6 separate regions of the Homo sapiens genome follow, and regions 1, 2, 3, 5 and 6 are each linked to region 4. Evidence: promoter capture Hi-C in 16 types of primary human blood cells and fetal thymus (Javierre and others, 2016). All regions are on one chromosome and are shown on one strand. The core of a region is centred on a gene start or on the middle of the fragment in contact, and the rest is flanking DNA. Distances in the headings are between cores, read along the strand shown.

The links. Contacts are between HindIII fragments. The CHiCAGO score rates a contact against its expected background, and 5 or more counts as called.
Region 1: a fragment that was not itself captured here is called in contact with the fragment with the promoter of NVL in region 4 in 13 of 17 cell types (naive B cells, naive CD8 T cells, total B cells and 10 more); the score reaches 13.6 in naive B cells.
Region 2: a contact is called between a fragment that was not itself captured here and the fragment with the promoter of NVL in region 4, in 1 of 17 cell types (erythroblasts). The highest score is 6.0, in erythroblasts.
Region 3: a fragment that was not itself captured here is called in contact with the fragment with the promoter of NVL in region 4 in 2 of 17 cell types (total CD4 T cells and naive B cells); the score reaches 5.1 in total CD4 T cells.
Region 5: a fragment that was not itself captured here is called in contact with the fragment with the promoter of NVL in region 4 in 4 of 17 cell types (neutrophils, naive B cells, total B cells and 1 more); the score reaches 7.3 in neutrophils.
Region 6: a contact is called between a fragment that was not itself captured here and the fragment with the promoter of NVL in region 4, in 8 of 17 cell types (naive B cells, total B cells, total CD4 T cells and 5 more). The highest score is 9.5, in naive B cells.

The regions. Positions count from the first base shown.
Region 1 is chr1:224,164,023-224,168,770 of GRCh38, forward strand. No RefSeq gene overlaps it. Among named protein-coding and RNA genes, the nearest start is that of DEGS1, 17 kb to the right of the region's middle. The HindIII fragment of the contact is 4,891 bases long and covers 631-4,748 here.
Region 2 is chr1:224,498,041-224,502,868 of GRCh38, forward strand. It overlaps a transcript of CNIH3 not described here. Among named protein-coding and RNA genes, the nearest start is that of WDR26, 66 kb to the left of the region's middle. RefSeq lists enhancers at 1-294, 20-219, 295-826, 2,202-2,702, 2,703-3,203. The HindIII fragment of the contact is 3,572 bases long and covers 1,174-4,745 here.
Region 3 is chr1:224,191,645-224,196,641 of GRCh38, forward strand. DEGS1 (delta 4-desaturase, sphingolipid 1) reads left to right here. Exons shown (of 3, transcript NM_003676.4): 3 at 688-1,797. The coding sequence ends at 834. Among named protein-coding and RNA genes, the nearest start is that of DEGS1, 11 kb to the left of the region's middle. RefSeq lists a silencer at 915-984 and an enhancer at 4,278-4,347. The HindIII fragment of the contact is 3,553 bases long and covers 1,109-4,661 here.
Region 4 is chr1:224,327,487-224,332,145 of GRCh38, forward strand. NVL (nuclear VCP like) reads right to left here and starts at 2,686. Exons shown (of 23, transcript NM_002533.4): 1 at 2,585-2,686. The coding sequence starts at 2,641. RefSeq lists enhancers at 2,254-2,393, 2,444-2,493, 2,684-2,733, 2,754-2,903. The HindIII fragment of the contact is 14,633 bases long and covers 1-4,659 here.
Region 5 is chr1:224,085,572-224,090,556 of GRCh38, forward strand. No RefSeq gene overlaps it. Among named protein-coding and RNA genes, the nearest start is that of FBXO28, 26 kb to the right of the region's middle. The HindIII fragment of the contact is 8,369 bases long and covers 1-4,985 here.
Region 6 is chr1:224,145,688-224,150,681 of GRCh38, forward strand. The region is part of intron 3 of FBXO28 (F-box protein 28); the gene reads left to right. Among named protein-coding and RNA genes, the nearest start is that of FBXO28, 34 kb to the left of the region's middle. RefSeq lists an enhancer at 1-205. The HindIII fragment of the contact is 2,532 bases long and covers 2,319-4,850 here.

The DNA.
Region 1 (4,748 bases), core at 1,826-4,325, 160 kb before region 4:
TACAGGCGTGCGCCACCATTCCCACCTAATTTTTGTATTTTTAGTAGAGATGGGGTTTCACCATGTTGGCCAGGCTGGTCTCGAACTCCCGACCTCAGGTGATATGCCCGCCTCGGCCTCCCAAAGTGCTGGGATTACAGGCGTGAGCCACCACACCCGGCCTACATCCCTCTGGTTTCTGATTAATCATTTCCTCAAAGCAAAATTAGAGTAAATCGTACACAGAAGAAATATGAGCAGTTGGGTGTTTGAGCAAAATGTACAACTGATAACTGGAAAGGAAATACAAATCAAAGATAAACTTCCCCTAATTCAATAAATTCTGTTCAAAGAGACGCAACTAAATAGCTTTCAACTTTCTCAGCTTTTGTGTTTTTAAACTCTTTTTTTCCTCTTGTCCTTTGGATTGTACAAAAGTCAAATTCAAATTAACTGATTTGTTAGGAATCTGTGATGCAGCAATGTAAATAGCAAAACTGACTCCAGAATACAACACCTAAGATATACTTTCCTGTGATAAGACAAGGGGAACATGCTTCCCTCCGCAAGGCCAAGCCAAAGAGAATTAGCTGGGGTGGGGTAAAGAAGAGAGGGCTAAACTGCTTGTTCTTTCTTTGGAGAGTTGGAGCAAGCTTACAAGAAAGTGCTCTTTAGATAAACAGTTTCTGTAACTCTACTGTAAGAGGACACTGCCTGTTACAGTGTAGCCCATGGATCAACAGCCTCAATCACCTAGGAGCTTCTGTGAAATGTAGAATCTCAGGCCCCATTCCAGAATCAAATCTGCATTTTAACAAGATCACCTGGTGATTAGTTTGCACATTAAAATTTGAGAAATGCCACTGTAAGGCACATTTGTCATTTTGAATCTAAATGCTAAACAACCCTTAGCTCCCTATATTTAGCAATAACAAAGAAAATGGAGAGAGAGAAGAGAGGAAGGAGAGTAAAAGGGAGGAGAAAGCAGGAAGAAAATACAAAAGTTAGTATTGGTCAGGGACAGTTCTTGAAACCAGTAGAGGTCATGACCATCAGCCATCCCAAACAGAAAACAGTTTCATCGCCTTTGGTGTCTTTTTTTTTTTTTTTTTTTTTTTGAGACGGAGTCTCCCTCTGTCGCCCAGGCTGGAGTGCAGTGGCGCGATTTCAGCTCACTGCAAGCTCCGCCTCCCAGGTTCACGCCATTCTCCTGCCTCAGCCTCCCGAGTAGCTGGGACTACAGGCGCCCACCACCTCGCCTGGCTAATTTTTTGTATTTTTAGTAGAGATGGGGTTTCACCACGTTAGCCAGGATGGTCTTGATCTCCTGACCTCGTGTTCCGCCCGCCTCTGCCTCCCAAAGTGCTGGGATTACAGGCTTGAGCCACCGTGCCCGGCCAGGAAATTTATATTACAATTCCCACCAGTATCAATCCAGTCACTATCATTTGAGAATAAAGAAATTATTTTTAAAAATACACTTTGGGAGGCCAGGGTGGGAGGATCGCTTGCATCTAGGAGTTCACGACCAGCCTGGGCAACATACCAAGACTTCGTCTCTACCAAAAACAAAAATTTTAAATTTAAAAATTAAAAAAAAAAAAATTAGCCAGGCTTGGTGGCATACACCTGTAGTCCCAACTACTTGGGAGGCTGAGAAAGGAGGATCGCTTGAGCCCAGGAGGTCAAGGCTGCAGCGAGCTGCCACTGCACTCAGCCTGAGTGACAGTAAGACCCTGTCTCAAAAAATAATAATAAAATATCCATCAATAGGAGACAGGGTTCATAAATTGGGATATATCCTTACAATAGAATACTAGGCACCAGTAAAAATAAGAAAATTATCTATATGCTAAGAAATATTTCTGGCCGGGCATGGTGGCCCATGCCTGTAATCCCAGCACTTTGGGAGGCCAAGGTGGGCAGATCACTTGAGGTCAGGAGTTCAAGACCAGCCTGGCCAACATGGTGAAACCCCATCTCTACTAAAAATACTAAAAGTAGCTGGGCATGGTGGTAGGTACCTGTAATTCCAGCTACTCGGGAGGCTGAGGCAGGAGAATCGCTTGAACCCGGGAGGCAAAGGTTGCAGTGAGCTGAGATCATGCCACTGCACTCCAGCCTGGGAGACAGAGCGAGACTACGTCTCAAAATGAAAAAAAAAAAAAAAAGGCCAGCGTGGTGGCTCATGCCTGTAATCCCAGCACTCTGGGAGACCGAGGTGGGTGGGTCACCTGAGGTCAGGAGTTTGAGGCCAGCCTGGCCAGTGTGGTGAAACCCTGTCTCTACTAAAAAATCCAAAAAGTAGCCAGGCATGGTGGCGTGTGTCTGTAATCTCAGCTACTCAGGAGGCTGAGGCAGGAGAATCACTTGAACCCAGGAGGTGGAGGTTGCAGTGAGCTGAGATTGTGCCACTGCACCCCAGCCTGGGAGACAGAGTGAGACTCTGTCTCTAAAAGAAAAAAATATATATGTATTTCCAAGACTGCTAAGGGAAATAACAAAATACAGAACAATATTACAGTATACTAACTTTTGTGAAAAATAAAGAGGGAAATAATATAGAGTCATGCTGAATAACCACATTTCAGTCAACAAGCAGCAGCATATTTTATGACAGTCCCATAAGATTATACTACCATATTTTTACTGCTTCTTTTCTATGTTTATGTGTTTAGATACACAAATACCACTGTGCTACAAGTGCCTACAGTATTCAGAACAGTAACATGCCATACAGTTTTGTAGTCTAGCATCAATAGGCTGTACCATATAGCCTAGGTGTATATAGTAGGCTAAACCATCTAGGTTTGTGTAAGTAAACTCTATTATATTCATACAACAAAATCACTTGATGCATTTCTGAGAGCACATCCCCATCTTTAAGCAGTTCATGACTGTACTGCTAAGTAGTGGCATGCATATGCATAAAGAAACTCTAGGCCGGGCACGGTGGATCATGCCTGTAATCCCAGCACTTTGGGAGGCTGAGGGGGGCAGATCACTTGAGGTCAGGAGTTTGAGACCAGCCTGGCCAACATGGCGAAATCCCACCTCTACTAAAAATACAAAAATTAGGCAGGCATGGTGGTCTGTGCCTGTAGTCCCAGATACTCAGGAGGCTGAGGCAGGAGGATCACTTGAATCTGGGAGTCAGAGGTTGCAGTGAGCTGAGATTACACCACTGCACTCCAGGCTGGGAGAAAGAGTGAGATTCCATGTCAAAAAAAAAGAAAGAAAAGAAAAGAAAAAAAAATTCTAGAAAAATGCACAGGGAATCAATAACAGTGGTTATATTTTGGGGTTTGACAACATAACAACAGGAACAGGAGCTGGGAGGAGCTTATCACTAGACACCTGTATGTTTTTCTATTTTTTTTTTGAGACGGAGTCTCGCGCTGTCGCCCAGGCTGGAGTGCAGTGGCGCGATCTCGGCTCACTGCAAGCTCCGCCCCTCGGGGTTCACGCCATTCTCCTGCCTCAGCCTCCCGAGTAGCTGGGACTACAGGCGCCCGCCGCTACACCCGGCTAATTTTTTGTATTTTTAGTAGAGACACGGTTTTACCATGTTAGCCAGGATGGTCGCGATCTCCTGACCACGTGATCCGCCTGCCTCGGCCTCCCAAAGTGCTGGGATTACAGGTGTGAGCCACCGCGCCCGGCCATGTTTTTCTATTTTTAAACCATGGAAGTGTATTCAACAATTAAACCAGCTGCTATAGACTGAAAGTTTGTGTCCCCGCAAAATGTATGCCTTGAAGCCTAATCCTCAAGGGGAGGAGACTAGGAGGTTGGGCTTTGGGGAGGTGATTATGTTCATGAGGGTGAAGTCTTCATGAATGGGGTTAGTGTTCTTTTAAAAGAGACACCAGGCTGGGTGCGGTGGCTCACGCCTGTAATCCCAGCACTTTGGGAAGCCGAAGCAGGCGGGTCACCTGAGGTCAGCAGTTTGAGACCACCCTGGCCAACATGTGAAACCCCATCTCTACTAAAAATACAAAAATTAGCCAGGCATGGTGGGGTGCACCTGTAGTCCCAGTTACTTGGGAGGCTGAGGCAGGAGAATTTCTTGAACCCAGGAAGCAGAGGTTGCAGTGAGCTGAGATCATACCATTGCACTCCAGCCTGGGTGACAGAGCGAGACTCCATCTCAAAAAAATTAATTAATTAATTAATTAATTAAATAAAAGGGACCTCAGAAAACTCCTTCACCTCTTCTGCCATGTGAGGTTATAGCCAGAAGACGGCCATCCACGAACAAGGAAGCAGCCCCTCACCAGATACTGAATATGCCAGTGCCTTGATCTTGGACTTCCCAGGCTCCAGAATTTTTTTTTTTTTTTTTTGAGACGGAGTCTCTGTCACCCAGGCGGGAGTGCAATGGCACGATCTGGGCTCACTGCAACCTCTACCTCCCGAGTTCAAGCGATTCTCCCACCTCAGCCTCCCGAGTAGCTGGGATTACAGGCATGCGCCACCATACCTGGCTAATTTTGTATTTTTAGTAGAGATGAGGTTTCTCCATGTTGCTCAGGTTGGTCTCAAACTCCCGACCTCAGGTGATCCACCCACCTCAGCCTCCCAAAGTGCTGGGATTACAGGGGTGAGCCACCACGCCCAGCCTAATTTTTGTATTCTTAGTAGAGACGGGTTTTCACCATGTTGGCCAGGCTGGTTTCGAACTCTTGACCTTGTGATCCATCCGCTTTGGCCTCCCAAAGTGCTGGGATTATAGGCGTGAGCTACTGTGCCTGGCCAGACTGTTTTCT
Region 2 (4,828 bases), core at 1,710-4,209, 170 kb after region 4:
CACTGTGCAAAGGGAGGGCAGGGAGAGGGGGAAGTTATTCTGCAGCAGCAGTGCCTTCCTGGGCATCCTGAAACCACCCTGATTCAGGGCCCATCTGGCCTCCTCATCTCAAGGCCAGTCTTGCTTGGCCTGTGCTCACTGCTGCCACTGCAATGCCATCTGGAAGAGAAAATCAGGACAATGGCTTCAGTTTCTTGCTCTCTTAGGATTAGGCTAACATGGAGGCCCCAGCAGCCCCAGCAAAAGCAGCAGTGATGGTGGTGGCGGTAGGGGTGTCATTAGCAACACTAATGAATCACTGCTGGGCCCGGTTCTCTTCTCTGACTCAGCTTGAAACTTCTTTCAGTTAACAGGAAGCCAGTAACCAGTAAAGTCAAAAGCTTATATGCAACTCTCTGGATTGGAAACCACTGGGGTGTTTTTTAAGCTTCTATTTCTAAAATAAGAAGGGAAACCAATGGACAGAAGCTTCCCTGTCTTCTTTGATGCAGATAAACTATGTTGGTAGAGGGTGATTGTGAGCTGGGGCCCTTGTTTCTTATGAAACTAAAAAATTCTACATGAGTTTACAAAAACAGGAAGCTGGCAGTGAAAGCTATTGGAATTATGTAAATGAAACAGTCAGTTTGGAATGCAGGTGGGAGTGTGCCTGTGGGAAAGAATGGAGAATGCATCAGAACACGGGCAGCCAGGTTACCATGCGCTGCTTCAGCACAGGGGAAGATGCGGGGGGCAAGGAACCTTCACTGCCCTGGCGTCATCAGCCCAGTGCTGCAACAGTGCAGCAGAAAGGGCAGCGGGGAAAGGCGACAGGAAGAGGAATCAAGACACTTACATTGCTCTAGGAGAGATTCGCATTTTTTTGTGGATCTGAGGATGGGAGCTCTGGGAGCTCTGGAGCCTCTTCCTGTCCGCAGGCACTGCAAAGCTTTAGCACACCAGTAGCTCCCCAGAGGGCTGGGAACCCATGCCAGGACTGGCACCCGCTCCGGGAAGGGGTGCTGGGAGTGCCATGATTTAGATCAGTGATTCACAAACTTTTGGTAGTGAAGACACTCCGTTAAAGCTTATTGTTTTGGGGTTGTATCCTACTCCCCGCCTTTTAAAAATGTTAGTTAAAAATTTAAATTAAAATGGACTTTGTTTTAAAATTAAAAATTTCCTGTTGTTTGAAGCTTCTATGACAACTGGGTAGCCTTCTGAGGTATTGTAATACAGTATTAGGATTTGGACTCTCTGCTGTATACACTAAGCTCTTAAGGGTGAAGGGCAGGCCATTGGTTCTGATAAGAAGAGAGGTTGCCATAGGTATCTCTGCTTTCTTACTCTTCCCCACTCCAGGCCATGTGGACATCTGGAGATATTTGATAAAATGTCCTTTACCAGCCGAGACTCATGACTAATCAATCGTTGTTTTTGTTGGTTTGCTTCTAATCCCTCTCCCTTCCAGTCTATCTTTCATCCTGCCATCAATTTCCTAAAACAGATTTGATGTGCCACCTCCCTCCTCAACAGTTTTCAATGGGATTTCCTACTGCCTGCATAAAGTCTAATGCCTTAGAATGGGGCAAGGAAAGCCTTTCATGATTTAACCCTCTAATACCTTTCTAGTTTCAATTTTTTATAACTCTCTATTTCGGGTCATTTTTTGAACATCAAGAAACTGAAAAGCATAGCTCAACTGCCTTATACAATACACGCCGTTATTTGCTTCTGGGACAAAAGAAGTCTAGAGTCAGCTGACTGGGCACTGTGGCTCACACCTGTAATCCCAGCACTTTGGGAGGCTGAGGCAGGAGGATCGCTTGAGGCCAGGAGTTCAAGACCAGCCTGGGCAACATAGCGACATCCTATCTCTACCAAAAAAAAAAAAAGAAAAAAGAAAAGAAAAAGAAATCTAGTGTCAGAGTGGGGCTTTGGGTAAGGCTCAACAATTCCCCAAGGATCTAATTCCTTTCTTTCTTTTTTCTTTTTTCTTTTTGAGACAGGATCTTACTGTGTCTCCTAGGCTGAAGTGTAGTGGCACAATCATGGCTCACTGTAGCCTTGACCTCCTGGGCTCAAGTGATCCTCCCACCTCAGCCTCCTTAGTAGCTGGGACTACAGGCCTGCACCATCAAGCCTGACTAATTAAAACAATTTTTTTTTTTTATAGAGATAGTGTCTCCTTATGTTGCTCAGACTGGTCTCTTGAACTCCTGGTCTCAAGTCATCCTCCCACCTCAGCCTCCCAAAGTGCTGTGATTACAAACTGAGCCACTGTGCCTGGCCACAATTTCTTCCTAATTCTCATGGTCCCAAAATGGTTGCCAGCAGCCTTCATCTCATGTCTCTAAAGAAAGAATGACTTGGCTGGTGCAACAGTTCATGCCTGTAATCCCAGCACTTTGGGAGGCCGAGGCAGGCAGATAGCTTGAACTCAGGAGTTGGAAACCAGCCTGGCCAACATGACGAAACTCTATCTCTACCAAAAATACAAAAACTTAGTCAGGCTTGGTGGCATGCATCTGTGGTCCCAGCTGCTTGGGAGGCTGAGGAGGGAGGATGGCTTGAACTCAGGGGGCGGAGGTTGCAGTGAGGCGAGATTGTGCCACTGCACTCCAACCTGCTGGGCGACAGAGTGAGACAAAAAAGCAAAGAAAAAAAAAAAAGAATGACTTTTCCCCAGCATTCATGACTGATCTTTAATCTGAGTAGACTTGTTTCTGACGTACATCTGCCCCTGCACCAACCCCAGTCGCCAGTGGGCTGGGATGTGCTGAGTGGCTACCTGCTGCACGATTTCCCTTGACCTCAAGACTCCCCACAATGCAGTGGATGCCTAAGTGGACAATGAGGCTGCTAGGATGGAAGAAGGGGGGCTGGAACCCGAGGAAGCAGCCGGCATCTGTGCATTCCACACACCCTGCACCATCACATCTCCATGCCTCCCCTTCTGCCACTTCCTGGAACCTACCATCTGCTTCCACTGATCAGAGCCCTGCTTATGCTTCAAAGCCTTGCTCGTGGGCCACCTCTGCTGCTGTGCCTCTTCTGTTCTGGAAACAGTAATCTTTTTTTTCATCTCTCTACTCTCTAAAGCATATCATGTTTCTATCTCATGTGCATTTACTAATTCTGCTTTGTTTTATGTCCACTTGTTTGTATATTTGACTCCTATATTGAACAGAAAGACACTTGAGGTAGGCGGAGTCATACTTTGTTCATTGTAGGGGTTTAAGAGTGTTGAATAAATGGTCATGGGCAATAATACTATCATTATTGAGAGCTTACTGGGTGAAAGGCACTTTGTAAAGAATTCTTCTCATAATTTTATTTAATCTCATTTAATCTTGACAACAGCACCATGAGGCAGATACTATTATTATTGTATCCAGTTTACAGATGAGGGTCCTGGAGCTTAGAGTGATATAAGCGAATTGCCCAAGGTCACATGCTCAGCAGACAGCAGCATAGGCTTGAACCTATATATATATATATATATATTTTTTTTTTTTAACCCCAGAGTTCATGTTCTTAATCATGATAATGTTTTATACAGAATTTTTTTTTTTTTTGGAGATGGAATCTCGCTCTGTCGCCCAGGCTGGAGTGCAGTGGCGCGATCTCGGCTCACTACAACCTCCGTCTCCCAGGTTCAAGCGATTTTCCTGTCTCAGCCTCTGGAGTAGCTGGGATTACAGGTGCGTGCCACCACGCCCAGCTAATTTTTTGTATTTTAGTAGAGACGGGGTTTTACTGTGTTGCCCAGGCTGGTCTCAAACTCCTGAGCTCAGGCAATCCACCTGCCTCGGCCTCCCAAAGTGCTAGGATTACAGGCGTGAGCCACTGCTTTATACAGAAATTTGTTTGTGACCAGCTACTTTCCTGGAAGAGGGGTCCCTGTTGGAGATGATTCTGTGGTGAGGAGGCTGGAGGAAGGTAGGGTGGAGGGGCAGAGGACCTGGAGGCTTCATGAGCAACTGGAGGGAGGTGCTGAAGAATGTGGGGAGGGCAGGTGAGCAGAGGATCCTCTGGGCCTTGTTCAGAATGGTTTGCCCAGAGGGGTCTTCCCTGAGGATACCACTTGTGGGCAGAACCCAGGAGTGCTGCAGATACGGCTCCCGGAGAGTGAAGCCCTGGTTTTCTTGGGGTCCTCAGAAACAGAGGGAATCAAGTCACTTTACTGGCCCAAGGGAATGGAAATTAGGGGCCGAAACAAACATCTACTGGGATAAAATAAGTGGTGTGAGTGAGATTGCAGCCAGAAATGATCTCTGTGAACGTAGCTGGTCAGCAGAAGTATCTCGTGATAGAGACTCCATGTGGACAGCATGGAGGAAAGAGGAGAAGGGCAGCCTTTGGAGCCGAAAGCCCAGCTCTCCTGAAAGGCACAGCCATGGAGCAAGAGCCGAAAGCCTTTTATTTGGAGGCTGGCCTATTTCTTTATCGCTAAACCCACTTTGCCTGTTTCCAGAGCCTCCTGGCTTGCATGAGCAGAACGAACAGCCTTCCTCCTGGTCTAGGCACTCTTGCACCAGTGTAACCTGCAGCGTGGGGAGGTGGATTGCCATTCCACCTCTAGAGTTAGGGAGGGCGGGGCCCGTGCCAGGGGAATGGAGTCCAGTAATTACTGAGCAACCCCCCTGCTTACATTCCCTGCCGAGTTCTACATAAACAATCAGCTGAAAAGACTGTCCCCTTTTCATAGTTTTCACCGCTGGGTGTTTTCAGAAGCAATTTAAACACTGGCAAACATAAAGGGAAGCTTTTATCCCTTCTCTAACCACTGAAAGGAAGCCGTGGATTTAAACACCATATGAATGGTGGGGAACAGAGCCCAGAGACA
Region 3 (4,997 bases), core at 1,635-4,134, 140 kb before region 4:
AGTGCAGTGGCACAATCTCGGCTCACTGCAACCTCCGCCTCCCGAGTTCAAGCAATTCTCCTATCTCAGCCTCCTGAGTTGCTGGGACTACAGGCGCACGCCACCATGTCTGGCTAATTTTTTTGTATTTTTAGTAGAGATGGGGTTTCACCATATTGGTTAGGCTGGTCTCGAACTCCTGACCTCAGGTGATCCACCCGCCTCGGCTTCCCAAAGTCCTGGGATTACAGGTATGAGCCACCGCACCCAGCCAAGTGCTTAATTTCTATCTAATTAGCATGCCACAATTTATTAGTATTTGTAAGTTCCTGGATGGCAGGGATCAGATGTTGCCTTTATATTCTATGGCGTCATCCATGCAGTACATTCTTTAATAATATCAAGTTAATCTAATTGTATGTATTTGTTGTTAATTTTACAAATAAGCCAGATATTTAGTCCCTTGGAATGTGATGGGAGAGAGACCTAGAGGGTCGAGTGTATTCAACTGCTGCTGAAATGTAGACTGCTTTTTGTTTAGAATTCCCACAGCTGCTGCTGCTGCTGCTTTTTTTTTTTTTTAAGAGAGAGGAGGGAGGCAGGTCTCATGGTTTCCCTTCTCAGTGTTTGTGTCAACCATTCATCAGTCATCTTTGAAAGAACCTAGTAACACTCATTTTTCATCTTGCTGTATTTTTTCCCTTCTAGGTGAGGAAAATAGCAGCTGAATACTATGACAACCTCCCTCACTACAATTCCTGGATAAAAGTACTGTATGATTTTGTGATGGATGATACAATAAGTCCCTACTCAAGAATGAAGAGGCACCAAAAAGGAGAGATGGTGCTGGAGTAAATATCATTAGTGCCAAAGGGATTCTTCTCCAAAACTTTAGATGATAAAATGGAATTTTTGCATTATTAAACTTGAGACCAGTGATGCTCAGAAGCTCCCCTGGCACAATTTCAGAGTAAGAGCTCGGTGATACCAAGAAGTGAATCTGGCTTTTAAACAGTCAGCCTGACTCTGTACTGCTCAGTTTCACTCACAGGAAACTTGTGACTTGTGTATTATCGTCATTGAGGATGTTTCACTCATGTCTGTCATTTTATAAGCATATCATTTAAAAAGCTTCTAAAAAGCTATTTCGCCAGGCACGGTGGCTCATGCCTATAATCCCAGCACTTTGGGAGGCCAAGGTGGGTGGATCACCTGAGGTCAGGAGTTCGAGACCAGCCTGGCCAACACGGTGAAACCCCATCTCTACTAAAAATGCAAAAATTAGCCGGGCGTGGCGGCACATGCCTGTAATCCCAGCTACATGGGAGGCTGAGGTGGGAGAATTGCTTGAACCCAGGAGGCGGAGGCAGAGGCTGCAGTGACCCAAGATTGTGCCACTGCACTCCACCCTGGGCAACAGAGCAAGACCCCATCTCAAAAATAAATAAATATATATAAAAAATAAAAAGCTATTTCTAGTTTATTTCACTATAAAGTTTTGCTTTATTAAAAAGCTAATAAACAGCTATTAATCACAGTGTATTAGTATTTGTTACATTTTTGTATTTCACTATCTTTATACTATATAATATGGTAACTTGGGTACCGGGGGAACTTTAAAATTTCATCTCAAAAATAATTTTTAAAAAGCCTGAGGTATGATATAGCATAAAAGATTGAGATGAAAATATATTTCCCTGTAAGCTGAATTACTCATTTAAAAATTTTAACTTCTATATGGGACCCGAATTAGACACTGCTGAATCCTGTACAGCCTTACTCATAAATAAAGTACTTACTGAATTTCCACCATTCAAATTCATTTTTCAGGTGTGTTGACTCTCACATTAGAAACTGCTCAACTGATAAAGACTTTCATGTTATTTCACTGCAGTGGGAACTGGCTGTGGTCTGATGGTAGATCGTTGGTCTCAAGTAGCTGGTAGCATGGGCTGTTGTTATGTCAGCAGTCTTGCTTACCTCAAATATGTCACTTGGATACGTTTAGTGTAATATGGTGAATTATTTTAAAAATACATCAGCAGCTGGGTGTGGTGGTTCACACCTGTAATTCCATGCTTCGGAAAGCTGAGGCAGGAGGATCGCTTGAGACCAGGAGTTTGAGACCAGCCTGGGCAACATAGTGAGACCCCATCTTTTTTTATTTTTTATTTTTTGAAATGGAGTCTTGCTCTGTTGTCCAGGCTGGAGTGCAGTGGCGCAATCTTGCCTCACCACAACCTCTGCCTCCTGGGTTCAAGCGACTTTCCTGCCTCAGCTTCCTGAGTAACTGGGATCACAGGCGTGCACAGCCATGCCCAGCTAATTTTTTTTTTTTTTTTTTTTTTTTTGTATTTTTAGTAGAGACAGGTTTTCACTATGTTGGCCAGGCTGGTCTCAAACTCCTGATCTCAGGTGATCTGCCTGCCTTGGCCTCCCAAAGTTCTGGGATTACAGGCATGAGCCGCTGTGTCTGGCCCCCATCTTTTCAAAAAATAAGAGTGGTGTGGTGGTGTGCACCTGTAGTCCCAGCTACTTGGGAGGCTGAGATTGAGACTACAATGAGCCATGATCGCACTACTACGCTCCAGCTTGGGTGACAAACACCCTCTAAAAAAAAAAAAAAGTTGGCTACATTGCAGTTTCGTAAAGAATAAAACAACACCCAGAATGCTGAGGGCGGGGTGAGGAGTAGAATCCTCTGTGGGACTGCCAGGCCTGTCTCACAGACCTCATTTCATCCCCAAAATACTTTGCTTTCCCTTCCTGACCCCCTTGCCTAGGAAAATTCCTAGTATCTTCTAATCTGTTACTCAAAGAACAATCAAAGAGTGACAATAGAACCAAGTTTACAATTCAGATTTTACTCAGTCACTAAAGTATCTGCAAAACATACCCCTGGATTTGATGCTAGATCATAGAGATCATGTACTCCCATCAAGTCTATAGAACTCTGGCCAATGGCACCGGGCGTGGTGGCTGTAATACCAGTACTTTGGGAGGCTGAGGCAGGTGGATCACGAGGTTAGGAGTTCAAGACTAGCCTGACCAATATGGTGAAACCCTGTCTCTACTAAAAAAAATACAAAATTATCTGGGCATGGTGGCATGTGCCTGTAGTCCTGGCTACTCGGGAAGCTGAGGCAGGAGAATCGCTTGAACCCAGGAGGCAAAGGTTGCGTGAGCCGAGATCACGCCCTGCACTCCAGTCTGGGCGACAGAGCAAGACAACGTCTCCAAAAAAAAAAAAAAGGCCAGGCGCGGTGCCTCACGCCTGTAATCCCAGCACTTTGGGAGGCCGAGGTGGGCGGATCACGAGGTCAGGAGATCAAGACCATCCTGGCCAATACGGTGAAACCCCATCTCTAGTAAAAAATACAAAAAATTAGCCAGGCGTAGTGGCCGGCGCCTGTAGTCCCAGCTACTTGGGAGGCTGAGGCAGGAGAATGGCGGGAACCCAGGAGGCGGAGCTTGCAGTCAGCCGAGATCGAGCCACTGCACTCCAGCCGGGGCGACAAAGTGAGACTACGTCTCAAAAAAAAAAAACAACAACCAAAAGAACTTTAGCCAATGGCTGCAGCTGCCATGTAAATGCTGAAAACCTCCAAATCTATCACTTCAGACCTCTCACTACCTGCTGGATGCACAGAGTGGGTTGTCATCCCTCTCCAAAACTCCAGTCTCCACTTACATAACCACTTCTTTCCTGAATGGAAGTTTCAGTCTTCGTAGCAGGCATCCCGATTATTCTGGCTCCCATCTGCCAACTCGATCCATTCTTTAAGAGAGCTACCAATCTGGGCAGTAAGAAGGCTGGGCCCCATAACCTCTAAAGAATAACTCCAAACAAAATTATCCGGGCCTGGTGTTGTGTGCATCTGTGGTCCTAAGCTACTCAGGAGGCTGAGGTAGGAGTTTCGCTTCTTTTTTTCTTTTTTTTTTGAGATGGAGTCCTGCTCTGTCGCCCAGGCTGGAGTGCAGTGGCTCGATCTGGCTCACTGCAAGCTCCGCCTCCCGCGTTCACGCCATTCTCCTGCCTCAGCCTCCCGAGTAGCTGGGACTACAGGCGACCACCACCACGCCCGGCTAATTTGTATTTTTAGTAGAGACGGGGTTTCACCGTGTTAGCCAGGATGGTCTCAATCTCCTGACCTCGTGATCCGCCCGCCTTGGCCTCCCAAAGTGCTGGGATTACAGGCCTGAGCCACCGCCCACGGCTGGAGTTTCGCTTCTTGAACCCAGGAGGCGGAGGTTGCAGTGAACTGAAATTGCACGCCATTACACTCCAGCCTCGGTGACAGAGCGAGATCCCGTCTCAGACAGTCCTAAGAAATCACTCAGTAGCTTTGCATGAGTTCTCCCTTCTGTTGTAAACTCCTTTCTCCGTTTCTCTTCTGGTTCAAAGTTTCACACCTTCAAGGCTCACAGCAGCCTTCTGTTACCCACCCCCAGTCCCCAGCAGGTCAGGTGTCAATTTTTTTGACTTTGAGAACCAATGATTATCTCTTCATGGCCCTAATCATACCATTGTGTAAATAGGCACTGTTTCTCCATAAGTTGTAACTCCTTAAGAGCAGGACACATCTTTTATTTCTGTTTCCCAAACCTAGCAGGGTGTTTGACTTAAAGTAAGTGCTTGATAAATGGAGAGAGACCAGCAGGGAGAGTCCTTGAACTTGAGAAGCTTTTTCTAAAACAAAAACACAGCCAAAGACAGGGCACTTGTATAATCTTTAGGTAAAAGTATTTTATGCTACAAATAATGGACATTCAATGAGAATCCTTACTTTTCACTGAGTCCTGTACCAAGTGTTTTACATGAACTATTGTACTTTTTTGTTGTTGTTCCTTTTTTTTTTTTTTTTTTTTTGAGACAGAGTCTTGCTCTGTGGCCCAGGCTGGAGTGCAGTGTTGCAATCTCAGCTCACTGCAACCTCCGCCTCCCAGGGTCAAGCAATCCTCCCACATCAGCCTCCCAAGAAGCTGGGACTGACTACAGGTGTACACCACCACACCTA
Region 4 (4,659 bases), core at 1,436-3,935:
AATTTATTTAAAATATTGTGTAAGACTATCTTCAGGCTATGTGTGTAAGGTGTATATGAAACATAAATAAACTTCATGTTTAACTTGGGTCCCATCCCCAAATATCTCATTATGTATATGCAAACATTCCAAAACCTGAAAAAAATCAATCTGAAACATTTTTTGGTCTTAAGCATTTAGAATAAGGGATATTCATTTGTACTTTTATAATGAACCAAAGTGAAAGCTATAGAGGAAAACTGATAATGTCAAACGCTGAAAAGAGTCAAGTGTGAGGACAGAGAAGAGGCCACTAGATCCAGTAATTAGGAGTCACTGCTCAGAAACCTCAATAAAGTGAAGGAGCAAGTTGTGGGACGCGGGAACATCCAGAGGAAGAGTAATTCAGAGTGACTGAACAACGAGAACAAAGGTCCTGTGCTTGGCATGTTTGAGAAGGTCTGTGTGGCTGGGACAGGAGAGGAAAAGTAAACTAGGACAACAGAGGCCAGAATATGCAGGGCTTTTCAGACTGGGTTTTACTCTAGATGTCTGTGACTCCACTGAAAGGTTTTGAGCAGGGCTATGGCAAGCTCTGATTTCCCCCCCCTTTTTTTTAGTTATACTTTAAGTTCTGGGATACATGTGCAGAACATGCGGGTTTGTTACATAGGTATACAGGTGCCATGGTGGTTTCCTGCACCCATCAACCCGTCATCTACATTAGGTATTTTTCCTAATGCTATCCCTCCCCTAGCCCGATTTTTCCCTTTAAAAGGATGTCTTGGCCACGCCTGTAATCCCAGCACTTTGGGAGGCTGAGGCGGGCAGATCACCTGAGGTCAGGAGTTCGAGACTAGCCTGGCCAACATGGTGAAATCCCATCCCTACTAAAAATACAAAAAGTAGCCAGGCGTGATGGCATGCACTTGTAATCCCACGTACTCGGGAGGCTGAGGCAGGAGAATCACTTGAACCCAGGAGGCAGAGGTTGCAGTGAGCAGAAAAAAAAAAAAAAATTAGATGTCTCTGGCTGCTCTGTGGGGAATAGGCTTTAGGTAAAAGCAGAATCAGAGAGATCAGTTAGGAGGCTATTGTAATAGTATAAGGTAGAGATGATGGTTTGGACTAAGATGGTTACAGGGAAAGACAGTAAGAAGTACTTGGAATATATTTTGAAAGTAAAGCCAACCAGGCTGTTGACAGATGGTATACAGGAAATGAAAGACTCAGAATGATCCTTAAGGTTTTTGGCCTTAACAACAGGACGAACGGTAGTATCATTTACTGAGATACAGAACACTAAGAAAGGGCAGATTTGAAGGAAGAAAAAAATCACAAATTCCACTTGGCCATTTTAATTTGGAGATATGCTGACTAGGCAGCTGGATATATCAATCTGTACTTCAAGATAAAATCTGGACTGGAGATATAAAGTTAGCAGTCATAAATATACAGAGGCCAGTGCAGCAGCTTGCACCGGTAATCCCAGCACTTTGGGAGGCTGAGGCCCGATCGCTTGAGCCCAGGAGTTAGAGACCAGCCAGAGTAACATAGTGGAACCCCGTCTCTACAAATAATAATAATAATAATAAATTAGCCAGGTGTGGTGGTGCACACCTGTAGTCCCAGCTACTGGGGAGGCTGAGGAGGGAGGATCACTTGAGTCAGGGAGGCCGAGGGTGCAGTGAGTTATGATTGTGCCCATAAACAGCCACTGCACTCTAGCCTGGGCAACAGAGCGAGACTATGTCTCAGAAAAATAAAAATAAAATGAAATAAATACATAGATAATAGAGTATGTAGATACTACTCAAAGGTTATTACACTAAATGAGATCACATAGGAAGTATGGATAGATAAGAAAGGTGTATGAGGAAAGAGGAGGAAGGGGAGGTAAGAGAACAGTGGCACAGAGCACTTCCAACATTTACAAGTTGGTAGGAAAAGATGGGTCCGAAAAGGAGATTGTTTAGGGGCTGGTGAAGTGAAAGAAAAACAAGGAGAATGTGTAGCTCACAAATTCCTAAGTGAAGAAAATTCTCTCCCACCTTTTAACTCAGACTGCTTGCTTACATTCTGAGGTATTTGCCACACACTGCTTTTTACTGATGGTCATGAAAATGAGAAAACCGTAGGCAAAGTGCCTGTTACTGTTGCCAGACCCATGTTATCTCGTTTTAGTGTGTAAGTTCCTTGAGAACGGAAATTAACATATTATTTATGCCACCCCTTCTCAAGGACCTCTTACAATGCGAGCGTTTGAAGACCATTCCTGTGCTAACTTCACAAGCCAAAGAGGTTAAAATTCAAAGGCTACCTCCACTCTACTGAATGATCTGCGCTGAAGACGACCAGACAACTTGGGCAGCCCTACCAAGCTGCACCCTCCCACCATCCCCGGCTTCTCCCTGAGACTCCGCACCAACGTGGGTAGGGAAGGCCCCGGCAGCACCAACTAAGGAGAAACAGACGCACGCCCAGACCCAGACTGGGGAAAGAAGACTAGTTGAGTTCCACCTGGATGCCACCCGACAAAAGGGGAGTGGCACCCTGGGGCAGCGATCGGGGCCCTTGGCGAGGCCAAGCGGTGCAGAATACACACCTGGATGACTCGCTGCTTGAGTTTATTATCCACGAACCCTGCAGGTCTGGGCTTCATCGCGTCGGTCTTCCAAGCCACAGCTCGGACCGCCAGCTCCTAGTCAACCGGGGGCCTCGTAGGGGTTGCCCGCCGCGATCGCCGGGCCAGTTGCACCTGAAATGCGCCCCTCCTGGGGCCTAGCCCGCGCCGTTTCCGTCAGAATAAAAGTAATGCGAATGAAGGGGAAAAAATTCCGAGGAGAGGGAGAAGACTTGAAAACCTCAGGGAGTTTCTAGGGGCCTTATTTTGCAGGCCTGCCCAGTGGACCCTGGAAGATTAGGACCCCTTTGAACGCGCTCAACTTTATTGGTTCCCCGCCGGGCGAACCAGGTGGGAGGAAGTTCCTACCCCGGCGCGGTGTGCGGAGACGCTGTCAACGGCGTCCTCTGGAAAACTTGGTTTGCTTTCCTCAGGCGTTCCAGCCACACCTCATTCTGATACAAAGCTAGTCTTCGCAAAACCAGCCACGGTAGATACTTGGAGTGATAAAATCAGGGTAAAAACACACCACCAGCCGCTGCTTGCTTTCCCACGTAGTTATCTTACATTTTAGAGGCCCGACAAAAGGGCTAGGTGAAAAAGAAAAGGAAGGACGGATTTATCCAGATAACTAAGTCATTTGTTACTTTTAGAACTCGTTTGACTTACGCTGTTATCATCGGCAGGTAATTTGTTGAATATATCCAGTGCAGGACTCCTTGGCCCAGAATTTTATCAAACGTTTGTATTTGCCCCAAGAAGTTTATCCTGCACTTAGGGAGACACAAAGGGACAGTTACCAAGCATTAAAAAAAAAATGCTGGCTTTAGTTTCTGTCTTCTTGTTTATTTCAACCGTGTTTTGAGTATTCTTATTTCAGGTCCTCCTTGGCTTATGACAAGGTTAAGTGCAGTGTATTAAGGGGCAGAGGGGAGAGAAAATGGAATTAAGAGAAGGGCGTGAGGCCGGGCACGGTGGCTCACACCTGTAATCCCAGCACTTTGGGAGGCCGAGGCGGGCAGATCACTTGAGGTCAGGAGTTCACGACCAGCCTGGCCAACATGGTGAAACCTTGTCTCTACTAAAAATATAAAAATTAGCACTGAATTAAGTATTAGATTTCCCACTCAAAATATTGATCCGTTTGGTTGCAACTTCATTTCCTACTTCTTCACTATGTGTAGTTTTATTTTTTATTTTTTTAGTTGTAAAATATAAGAACATTCACCATCTTAAACATTTTAAAGTGTGCAGTTTAGTGATAATACATTCATAATATGCAACCATCACTGCCATCTAGTTCCAGAACTCTTTTCATCTTGTACAACTAAAACTCTATACTAATTAAAAAATAACTCCCCATTCCTCCCTCCCCCCAGCCCCTGGCAACTACCATTCTACTTACTGTCTTTATGATTTTGACTACACTAACTTCCTCATATAAGTGGAATCTTCCAGTATTTGACTTTTGTGACTGGCTTGTTTCTTAGCTTAATGCCCTCATATAGCATGTGTTAGAATTTCCTTCTTTCTTTTCTTTTTTTTTTTTTTTTTTTTTTGATACAGAGTCTTGCTCTGTTGCCCAGGCTGGAGTGCAGTGGCGCAATCTCAGCTCACTGCAACCTTCGCCTCCTGGGTTCAAGAGATTCTACCACCTCAGCCTCCCAAGTAGTTGGGACTACAGGTGTGTACCACCACACCCGGCTAATTTTTTGTATTTTTAGTAGAAATGGCGTTTTGCCATGTTGGCCAGGCTGATCTCCAACTCCTGACCTGAGGTGATCCACCTGCCTTGGCCTCCCAAAGTGCTGGGATTACAGGTATAAGCCACCGCACCTGGCCTTTCCTTCACTTTTAAGGCTGAATAAAATTTGGCTCTTTTGTTGCCATTCTGCCTTTTGCCATGGGATGACACAGCAAGAAGGCCCTCACCAAATAACAACTCCTTGATATTGGACTTTCCAGCCTTCTTGCATTCATTCAACAAGTGTTTATTGAGTGCCTACCAGTTTCAGTCTCTGCTCTGCGCTTTAGGCTTGTGGGGAAAAGTGGAAGAA
Region 5 (4,985 bases), core at 1,896-4,395, 240 kb before region 4:
TACAGTCATCAACCACCTCAAAAATATCTATAGGATGCTGAAACAATGCTATCCAGCTTCCTGCTGATGGTCCAACACATGCACAGATTTTAGAATCATTAGAAATATTGATGAAATGCCTAACTTATCTTTTTTTCTTTTTAAATTTTATTTCTCAATTTTTTTATTCCTCCTACTCTCTGATACCTGCTCTTTTGTGGTTTGAACATTAGTGGAAAATCTGTAAAATTTGGGGCTGAAAATGAAGACCAGGTATAAAATCACCATAGCCACTAAAATGGCTACAACGAAGCAGAAAAGGAGGGGGAATAAAAGGAGGGTGTGGTTCCCTCAATAAAGAAACTGCTTCCTTCATGCTGACAAACTAACCCTCATCTCTCTATATATATATATATGTTCTGCATTCTGTTATTCCCCCAGTCAAATTTATTATTTTTTTTTAATTTTTTTTTGAGACGGAGTTTCACTCTTGTTGCCCAGGCTGGAGTGCAGTGGTGAGATCTTGGCTCACCGCAACCTCTGCCTCCCGGGTTCAAGCGATTCTCCTGCCTCAGCCTCCCGAGTGGCTGGGATTACAGGCAAGCCTCACCACACCTGGTTAAGTCGGTATTTTTAGTAGAGACAGTGTTTCTTCATGTTGATCAGGCTGGTCTCGAACTCCCGACCTCAGTGATCCACCCGCCTCGACCTTCCAAAGCTCACGCCTGTAATCCCAGCACTTTGGAAGGTCTGGGCGGATCACCTGAGGTTGGGAGTTCGAGACTAGCCTGACCAACATGGAGAAACGCTGTCTCTACTAAAAATACAAACTTAGCCAGGTGTGGTGCCGCATGCCTGTAGTCTCAGCCACTCGGGAGGCTGAGACAGAAGAATTGCTTGAACCTGGGAGGCAGAGGTTGCAGCGAGCAGAGATCATGCCACTGCACTCCAGCCTGGGCGACAGAGCGAGACTCCACCTTGTTAGATATGAGTTCTAAATTTCTTTTCAAATAATTAATATGTCAGTATGTTCAATTCTTTGCCTTCTACTTTTAAACTTAACTTCCTCGTAAAGCAACCTTTTTCGATTACCCTCCACCCTGACTCCTTCCGATTACCTACTCCACCCTGACTCATTCCAATCACCTGCTCCACCCTAACTCATTCCAATTACCTGCTACCTGCTCTGCCCTGACTCCTGCCAAAGCACTCACCCCGTCATTCTCTTTAAATTAGCCAATCGGAATTAGTTTAGCCTGTGTGGTCTAACCCTAGCCAATAGGGGAACGACACAGCAGCAGGGGCCACATGTGTCAGGGATAAGAACCCCTTCCCCTCCCTTGTCCAAGTGTGTGCTCACCATTGTTCCATCTATAAGGGTGCACCCTTCTATATAGAAGTACCTTGCCTTGCTGAGAATTAAAAAGAAAATTTTATACTCGAGTGTTATTCCTTTTGTGGCACCGAAACTTTATATATAACACACCTCAAAAAAAAAGAAAACAGACAGGGTCTCACTCTATTGCACAGACTGGAGTGCAATGGTGTCATCATAGCTCACTACAGCCTTGAACTCCCAGCCTCAAGTGATCCTCCCGCATTATCCTCTCAAGTAGATGAGACTACAGGTGTGTGCCACCACAGCTGGCTAATGTTTTTATTTTTTGTAGAGGTATGGTTCTCACTGTGTTGCCCAGTCTGCCTCAACTCCTTGGCTTCAAGTGATCCTCCCTCCCTGACCTCCCAAAGTGCTGGATTACAGGCATAATTGCATCTGGCCCTAGTCAAATTGTAAATATGCTATTCAGACACACTAGATTCAAACACTTACAGCTTCTTATTTTGAAGTTGCAATATGATACTTATTCTTTGCTGTGAAATCTAAATCCTCTGAAACCACCCTCCACAGCCCAGCAGGAAAATGTCCTGCCACACGTAGCTATTTGAAGTCTCTGGCTCGCCTATTTGAATGCTCATTATTTCCTAGATTCAAATGGCCTTATAAATGCACCTATTGTATGATTATGGAAGAACTATTAAAAATAATTCAGGAAGCCAAAGGTTATAAAACAGAGACATGAGTAATTGCTTTGGTCTGTGATCTTTAAATGGCATGCATAAAAGACCAAGCATTTAAAGTGGGGCAGGATAAGGCAAAACACAGCACAACTTCCCAGAATGTCCTTTAGCAGATCAATGCTTATGGCTGTCTAATTTCATGTGATTATTAGAATAGACAAGTGAAGGCCGGGCGCGGTGGTTCATGCCTGTAATTCCAGCACTTTGGGAGGCCGAGGAGGGCAGATTCCTTGAGCTCAGAAGACCAGCCTGGCAACATGGTGAAACCCTATCTCTACTAAAAACACAAAAAATTAGCCAGGTATAGTGGCATGTGCCTGTAGTCCCAGCTACTCAGGAGGCTGAGGTGGGAGAATCACCTGAGCCCAGGAGGTCAAGGCTACAGTGAGCTGAGATCATGCCACTGCATTCCCACCTGGGCAAATGGAGTGAGACACTGTTTCAAAAAAAAAAAAGACAAGTGAGTCTCAAAGGAAAGAACTAACCATGAAGGGGACTTCTCAGAACCTGGAGAAGTGGACTATGTAAATTGAAATCACATTATAATGTTATACTATTATTTATATTGGTTAAAGGAAAAATGCATATCTTCATTGTAAAAACTTCTTCCTCTTTTCCTTTTTTTTTTTCTTTTTTTTTTTTAGATGGAGGGAGTCTCCCTCTGTGGACCAGGCTGGAGTGCAGTGGCACGATCTTGGGTCACTGCAACCTCCACCTCCCGGGTTCAAGCAATTCTCCTCCCTCAGTCTCCCGAGTAGCTGAGATTACAGGTGTGCACCACCACACCCGGCTAATTTTTGTATTTTCAGTAGAGACAGGGTTTTGCCAGGTTGGTCAGGCTGGTCTCAAATTCCTGAGTTCAAGTAATCTGCCCATCTTGGCCTCCCAAAATGCTGGGAAAGGTGTGAGCCACCATACCTAGCCCTGTAAAAATTTCTACAAGTAACATTTGCAAAAAACAATCTTGGCTGCTGAGAATACAAAGAAACAATGATTCTCAGAGTCATAAGAAAGCAGGGGAAATGAGGGTGTGCCTCTCTGTGGATACACTCAGCACCTCAGGACAGGACCTGAGATATCTATGATTATGAAAGATAACAGGGGCCATGCACAGTGGCTCACAAACACTTTGAGAGGCCAAGGCAGGAGGATCAGTCGAGCCCAGGAGTTCAAGATCAGCTTGAGCAATATCACAAGACCTCATTTCCACAAAAACAAATTTTAAGTTAGCTGGGCTTGGTGGTGTGCACCTGTAGTCCCACCTACTCCAGAGGCTGAGGCAGGAGGTTTGCTTGAGCCCATGAGTTTGAGGCTGCAGTGAGCTATGATCACAACACTGCACTCCAGCCTCTGACACCACAGGTGACAGAGTGCAACCCTGTCTCAAAAAAAAGGATAATGAAGAAGGTATAAAAGAAGACATGGACTTAAAAGTTTAGAAAATTGGCCGGGCATGGTGGCTCACACCTGTAATCCCAGCACTTTGGGAGGCCAAGGCAGGAAGATCACGAGGTCAGGAGTTCAAGACCAGCCTGACCAACATGGTGATAGCCCGTCTCTACTAAAAATACAAAAATTAGCCAGGCATAGTGGCGGGCGCCTGTAATCCCAGCTACTCAGTAGGCTGAGGCAGGAGAATCGCTTAAACCTGGAAGGCAGAAGTTGCAGTGAGCCAAGATCATGCCACCGCACTCCAGCCTGGGTGACAGAGACTCCATCTCAAAAAAAAAAAAAAAAAAAAGTTGGGAAACATTGTACCAGCCAGTGGGCTGTGTCTAACTCATCTTCCTTTCCCCCAAGCCTATAATTCCATTTAACAAAACTCTAGCACAAATAAATCTAATCTATGGTGATGGAGTGAATATCAGTGGTTGCTTGGGGCAGGGGCTGTGGGAAATGGAAACTGATTGGAAAGGGGCAAAAGGAAACCTTTCGGGGTAATGAAAATGTCCTATATCTTGAGTATGGCGGTGGTTGTATGAGGATATATATTTATTATTCATCAAACTGTACCAATAAGTGTGTACACTTTATTATATGCAAATTGTACCATTATTAAGGTTTTTTTAAGACTATGTTGCCCAAGGTGAACTTGAACACCTGGGCTCAATCAATCCTCCAGCCTCACCCTCCTGAGTAGCTGGGACTACAGGCACACGACACCACGCCCATCTGTTAAGTTGATTTTAAAAGGAACCACAACATGTTCAAAAGAGAACCCTTGCCCTAAACCTGCTCCTCAAGTCTTCCCCATCTCAGGAAATGTCAACTCCATTCTTTCATTTATTTAGATCTTGGAGTCATCTTTGACTGCTCTGTCTATTTAATCTACATTTTCTTTATTTTCATTTACATTTGAAGGACACCCAGACTCTGATCTCTTCTTAGTACTTTTCCCTCTTCCATCCTGGTGCAAGCCACTGTCCTCTCACTGATGCAGGAAACTCTGAACTGGTCTCCCGCTTTCATAGCCTCCTGGCTTCTCCACTATTCTCCCTGCCATGACCAGAGTGGTCCATTTGTAATATTTTTGCTCACATGACTCCTGTGCTCAACACCCCCCATAGTTTCCTTTCTAATTCAGTACAAATTCCAGAGTGCTTACATGGCCTGCAAAAGAACCTACGTGATCTGTCCCCAACCCTCTCCCTCACATTCACATATTCTCTCCCACCCTCAACGCACACACCTCTACGCTTCTCATTACAATTCTCTATGCTCACTAGGCTCACTGCCCTCTATGCTGTTTTTCAAACACACCAAGCACACTTCCGCCTCAGGACCTTTGACTTGTGCCTTTGCCTTCAATAACATTGACATCCTCCCAGATATCCCGAGGCCTCATCAGAGAAGCCATCACTGACTGGCCCATATAATAGCATTCCTTCTCTCTCTCTATCCCTCAGTCCTGCTTTATCTTTCTTCAT
Region 6 (4,994 bases), core at 2,335-4,834, 180 kb before region 4:
TGATGCGGGCAGATCACCTGAGGTCATGAGTTCGAGACCAGCCTGGCCAACATGGTGAAACTCCACCTCTACTAAAAGTACAAAAATTATCCGGGCATGGGCCAGGCGCAGTGACTCACACCTGTAATCCCAGCACTTGGAAGGCCAAGGCAGGTGGATCACCAGAGGTCGGGAGTTTGAGACCAGCCTGACCAACATGGAGAAACCCATCGCTACTAAAAATACAAAATTGTCCAGGTGTGGTGGTGCAAGCGTGTAATCCCAGCTACTCAGGAGGCTGAGGCAGGAGAACTGCTTGTATCCGGGAGGTGGAGGTTGCGGTGAGCTGAGATTGTGGCATTGCCCTCCAGCCTGGGCAACAATAGCGAAACTCCTTCTCAAAAAAAAAAAAAAAAAATTATCCGGGCGTGGTGGCACACGCCTGTATTCCCAGCTACTCAGGAGGCTGAGGTAGGAGGATCACTTGAACCTGGGAAGCGGAGGTTGCAGTGAGCCGGGATCACACCATCACACTCCAGCCTGGGCGATAGAGTGAGACTGTCTTCAAAAAAAAAAAAATTAAAAATAATATTTAGAAAATTTTAGATGCACTTAGGTTTTTTAAATATGGAGGAAATTTTTTTAAAAAATAAAAGGGGTAGAAGGGAAAGTTAAGGAAATCTCAAGTACAACAAAAAGACAGATGAAAAATGAGAAAAAAATGAGCATTTATGAGGTTCAGTATTCTAGCAGGAGCTTTGTTTGCTAAACAGTAGATTAAAAAATTATTTCTCACCCACAGTCTAAAGGCCTAAATGATATTCATCGTATATAATTTGTTACTGTACCATTTTAGACATAAGCGTGGTACTTCTACTGTGTGTTAGAAATGTGATGGTGTACTTTTTAATTTTTGTAGAGACTGTTTCTAGCTATGTTGCTCTTGAACTCCTGCCTCCCTTGGCCTCTCAAAGTGCTGAGATTACAGGCATAAGCCACCAGCCACAGCCTGTACTGTACTTTTATAAAACTAAAATTTTTTTTTTTTTTTTTTTTTGGGAGACTGAGTCTTGCTGTGTCGCCCAGGCTGGAGTGCAGTGGCACGATCTGGGTTTGCTGCAACCTCTGCCTCCCAGGTTCAAGCGATTCTTCTGCCTCAGCCTCCCGAGTAGCTGGGACTATAGGCACGTGCCACCATGCATGGCTAATTTTTGTATTTTTAGTAGAGACAGGGTTTCACCATATTGGCCAGGCTGGTCTCGAACTCCTGACCTCGTAATCCGCCCTCCTTGGCCTCCCAAAGTGCTGGGATTACAGGCGTGAGCCACCGTGCCTGGCCAAAAATATTTTTTATAACCTGTAGTCAGCTCTGTATTCGTGGGTTCCACATTCATGGATTCAACCAACCGTGGATAGAAAATATTTAGTGAGACTCTGTCAAAAAATATATATGTATATTTAGAGAAGAAAAACAATTGCCGGATGCGGTGGCTCACGCCTATAATCCCAGCACTTTGGCAGGCCGAGGCAGGCGGATCACAAGGTCAAGAGTTCAAGACCAGCCTGACCAATATGGTGAACCCGCATCTCTACTAAAAATACAAAAATTAGCTGGGCGTGGTGGCAAGCGCCTGTAGTCCCAGCTACTCGGGAGGCTGAGGCAGGAGAATCACTTGAACCCCGGAGGCAGAGGTTGCAGTGAGCCGAGATCATGCCACTGCACTCCAGCCTGGGCAACAGAGCGAGACTGTGTCAAAAAAAAAAAAAAGAGAAGAAAAACAATTTTTAAAACCACAGCTGTTTTTAAAATATGAATTTTAAAATAGTACAATGTAACTACTATTTACAAAGCTTTGACATGGTATTAGGTAGTGTAGGTAATCTAGAGGTGATCTAGGTTATATGCAAATACTATGCCATTTTATATAAAGGACTTGAGCACACACACATTTTGACAATGTGGTCCTGGACCCAAACCCCTGAGGATGCGGAGGGACTGACTATTTTACTTCTTACAGCCTGGGTAAGGTTCAACATGTGGTATATCATTTGAAAGGTGTAGAAACAGCCATTAAGAGTTTAAGTGACCTTCCTAAGGCCTGTGGTCTTTCCACTAGACCTCAAAACTCATACCATTACATTCTCGTTAATGTAATTTGCAAAAAAAAAAAAAAAAAAAGATTAAATCTACTCAGAAAATGAACTGTTTTGAAAATTTGTTAAATACCTTGCTTTCTTAATATATACCTCTAAAGCCATGGCAGCCACTTAAAACTCTGAATGGTAGAAGCAGTATGGTTCTCACACACATACTTTCCTTCACCTTATCCTCTGCTTAAAGCTTTTGGACAAAGAAAAGAAACTATTTTGAATTTTATTGAAAACATAGATTATCCCATTTGACTAAAATAATCTCTATACAGTAAGATTTTTAAATGTTCTTTTTTAATGGAAGACTGGGGCAAATGGAAAGAGTGAACTTGCTTTTACACTACATTTAGAAGACTACAGTAAAGATAATATTTCACAAATTGTAGATGTATTTTCACATTACTTTTAATGGCAAAACCACAGTTACTTTGGAACCGATCTAATAATTTACTGTCAGTTAGCAATCCCTGTAGGATATTTTGATAATGAAAGTTATTCTGAAGAATAAGTATCATGGAAAAAGACTAATTGTATAATATATGTTAAGAAACGGCCAGGCACGGTGGCTCACGCCTGCAATCCCAGCTCTTTGGGAGGCCGAGGCAGGCGGATCATGAGGTCAGGAGATCAAGACCATCCTGCCTAACACGGTGAAACCCTGTCTCTACTAAAAATACAAAAAAAAGAGAAAAAAATTCGCCAGGTGTGGTGGCGGGTGCCTGTAGTCCCAGCTACTCGGGAGGCTGAGGCAGGAGAATGTCGTGAACCTGGGAGGCAGAGCTTGCAGTGAGCCAAGATCGCACCACCGCACTCCAGCCTGGGCGACAGAGCAAGACTCCGTCTCAAAAAAAGAAAAAAAAAAAGAAAAGAAACACCCTAGAATAAATGCTTGGTACATGATAGTACTGCATAACTACTGTATAAATGTTGAATTGCTATCCTATCACCTATCCATCCACATCATCCCTGTGCTCAACTCCACACTGTTTAGCCAGGTGTACCTTCCTCCTGCTCTAACTTCCCTTACCTGTTGAAATTTACTTACTAATGTCCTTCATTAGACCTACCCAGTTCTCTCAACTGGATCTTAATCTCTACTCTGTTTTCACACAGCACTTTGCTTATACATTGAACTTATTACAGTCTGAGTTTTGCTTTGCTGTTTATGGGTCTTTCATGGAGTCATGTTTCACTGGATAGGATCTGTGTCTTATGCCTATACCATTACAACAGTCCTATTCTAGCCCAAATACACTATAAATATTCTTCTGTCTACCAGTATTTATAAACATATAATATCTAGAGGTATATTAATAAGGCTGTGGGTATTTTATTAAACATATAAGTACTATTTTAAGTATTCTATATTTTTACAAGTCCGTCTCAATAGAGATCTTGTTTACAATGACCTTTGTGTTCAAAACATAATCATCTGACTTCTGAAAAACCATATAATCTTTTTTTTTTTTTTTTTGAGACAGTCTTGCCCCATCACCTGGACTGATCACAGCTCATGGGACTATAGGCATGCGCACAGCTAATTTTTTAATTTTTTGTAGAGACAGAGCTCACAGTGTTGCCCAGGCTGGTCTCAAACTCCTGTCCCTAGACAGTCTTCCCACCTCGGCCTCCCAAAGTGCTGGCACCGTAGGTATGAGCCACCACGCCCAGCCAAAAAACAAATTCTTGTGTTGAATTAACCCTTTCATTTGCCCTTAAACAGTTTTGTTTAGATGTATCAATTAATGTTAAACAATTAATATACTTAACCATCTTTACCCCTTATTTACTGAGTATCTGCCATGTGCCAGATGCTGCTAGGCTCTGGGGATCTGACAGTGAAACATGGTATGATCTCTTCTGTCATAGAGTTTACTACATTATATGGAAGATAGAAATTAACAAAAAGATGTACTTACAAATTGTAATGTGTGTTCTGAAGGGGAATAAAGGGTTGGATGAAGATGTTAACATGATTTAAATTGGAGGAGGGTTCAGAAAAGACTTCTGAGAAAGTACAGTGTTACTGTGACCTCGTGTATAACTAAGGAATTTGAAGTGAGGGAGATACACAGGGATGGCATTCCAGGAAAGGGATCAGCATGTGCAAAAGCCCTGGGGCAAAAAGGTGGGGAACTTGATTTAGTTCAAAGGGCTGATGGCCAGTTTGTATCTATAGATGCAACATATTAGCCTTTGGGGACAACATTTAAAAATTATGGAAGGCCAGGTGCAGTGGCTTATGCCTGTAATCCCAGCACTTTGGGAGGCCAAGGCAGGCAGATCACCTGAGGTCAGGAGTTTGAGACCAGCCTGGCCAACATGGTGAAACCCTGTCTCTACTAAAAATACAAAAATTAGCCAGGCTTGGTGGTGGGTGCCTGTAATCCCAGCTACTTGGGAGGCTGAGGCAGGAGAATTGCTTGAACCCAGGAGGTGGAGGTTACAGTGAACCAATACCATGTCATTTCCAGCCTGGGCAACAAGAGCGAAGCTCCGTCTGAAAAAATTATGGAGTACTGTGGTACTTTTCCTATATATAACCCATATGTAAAACGTTGATAAACACAAAACTACTATGGGTCAATTAATATCCTAGCACTATACATAAAATATCAGTCAGTATGAAGGACCCTTTAAATACTGATTTTCTACTTTGGTTTATATTTTTAATTTTATTAACTATTTCTTGATTATGTATAAATATTATATAACTTTTAAGCTTTGAGTAGCTAGCTTCCACAAATATTTACTCTTTGGAGATATACATGTATATATAAAATTTGTCTATTTCTAGTCCTTGAACTCCTTGAACAAGCCAAGCTGACACTGACCTTGGGGCCACTATCATTACTATTTCTACC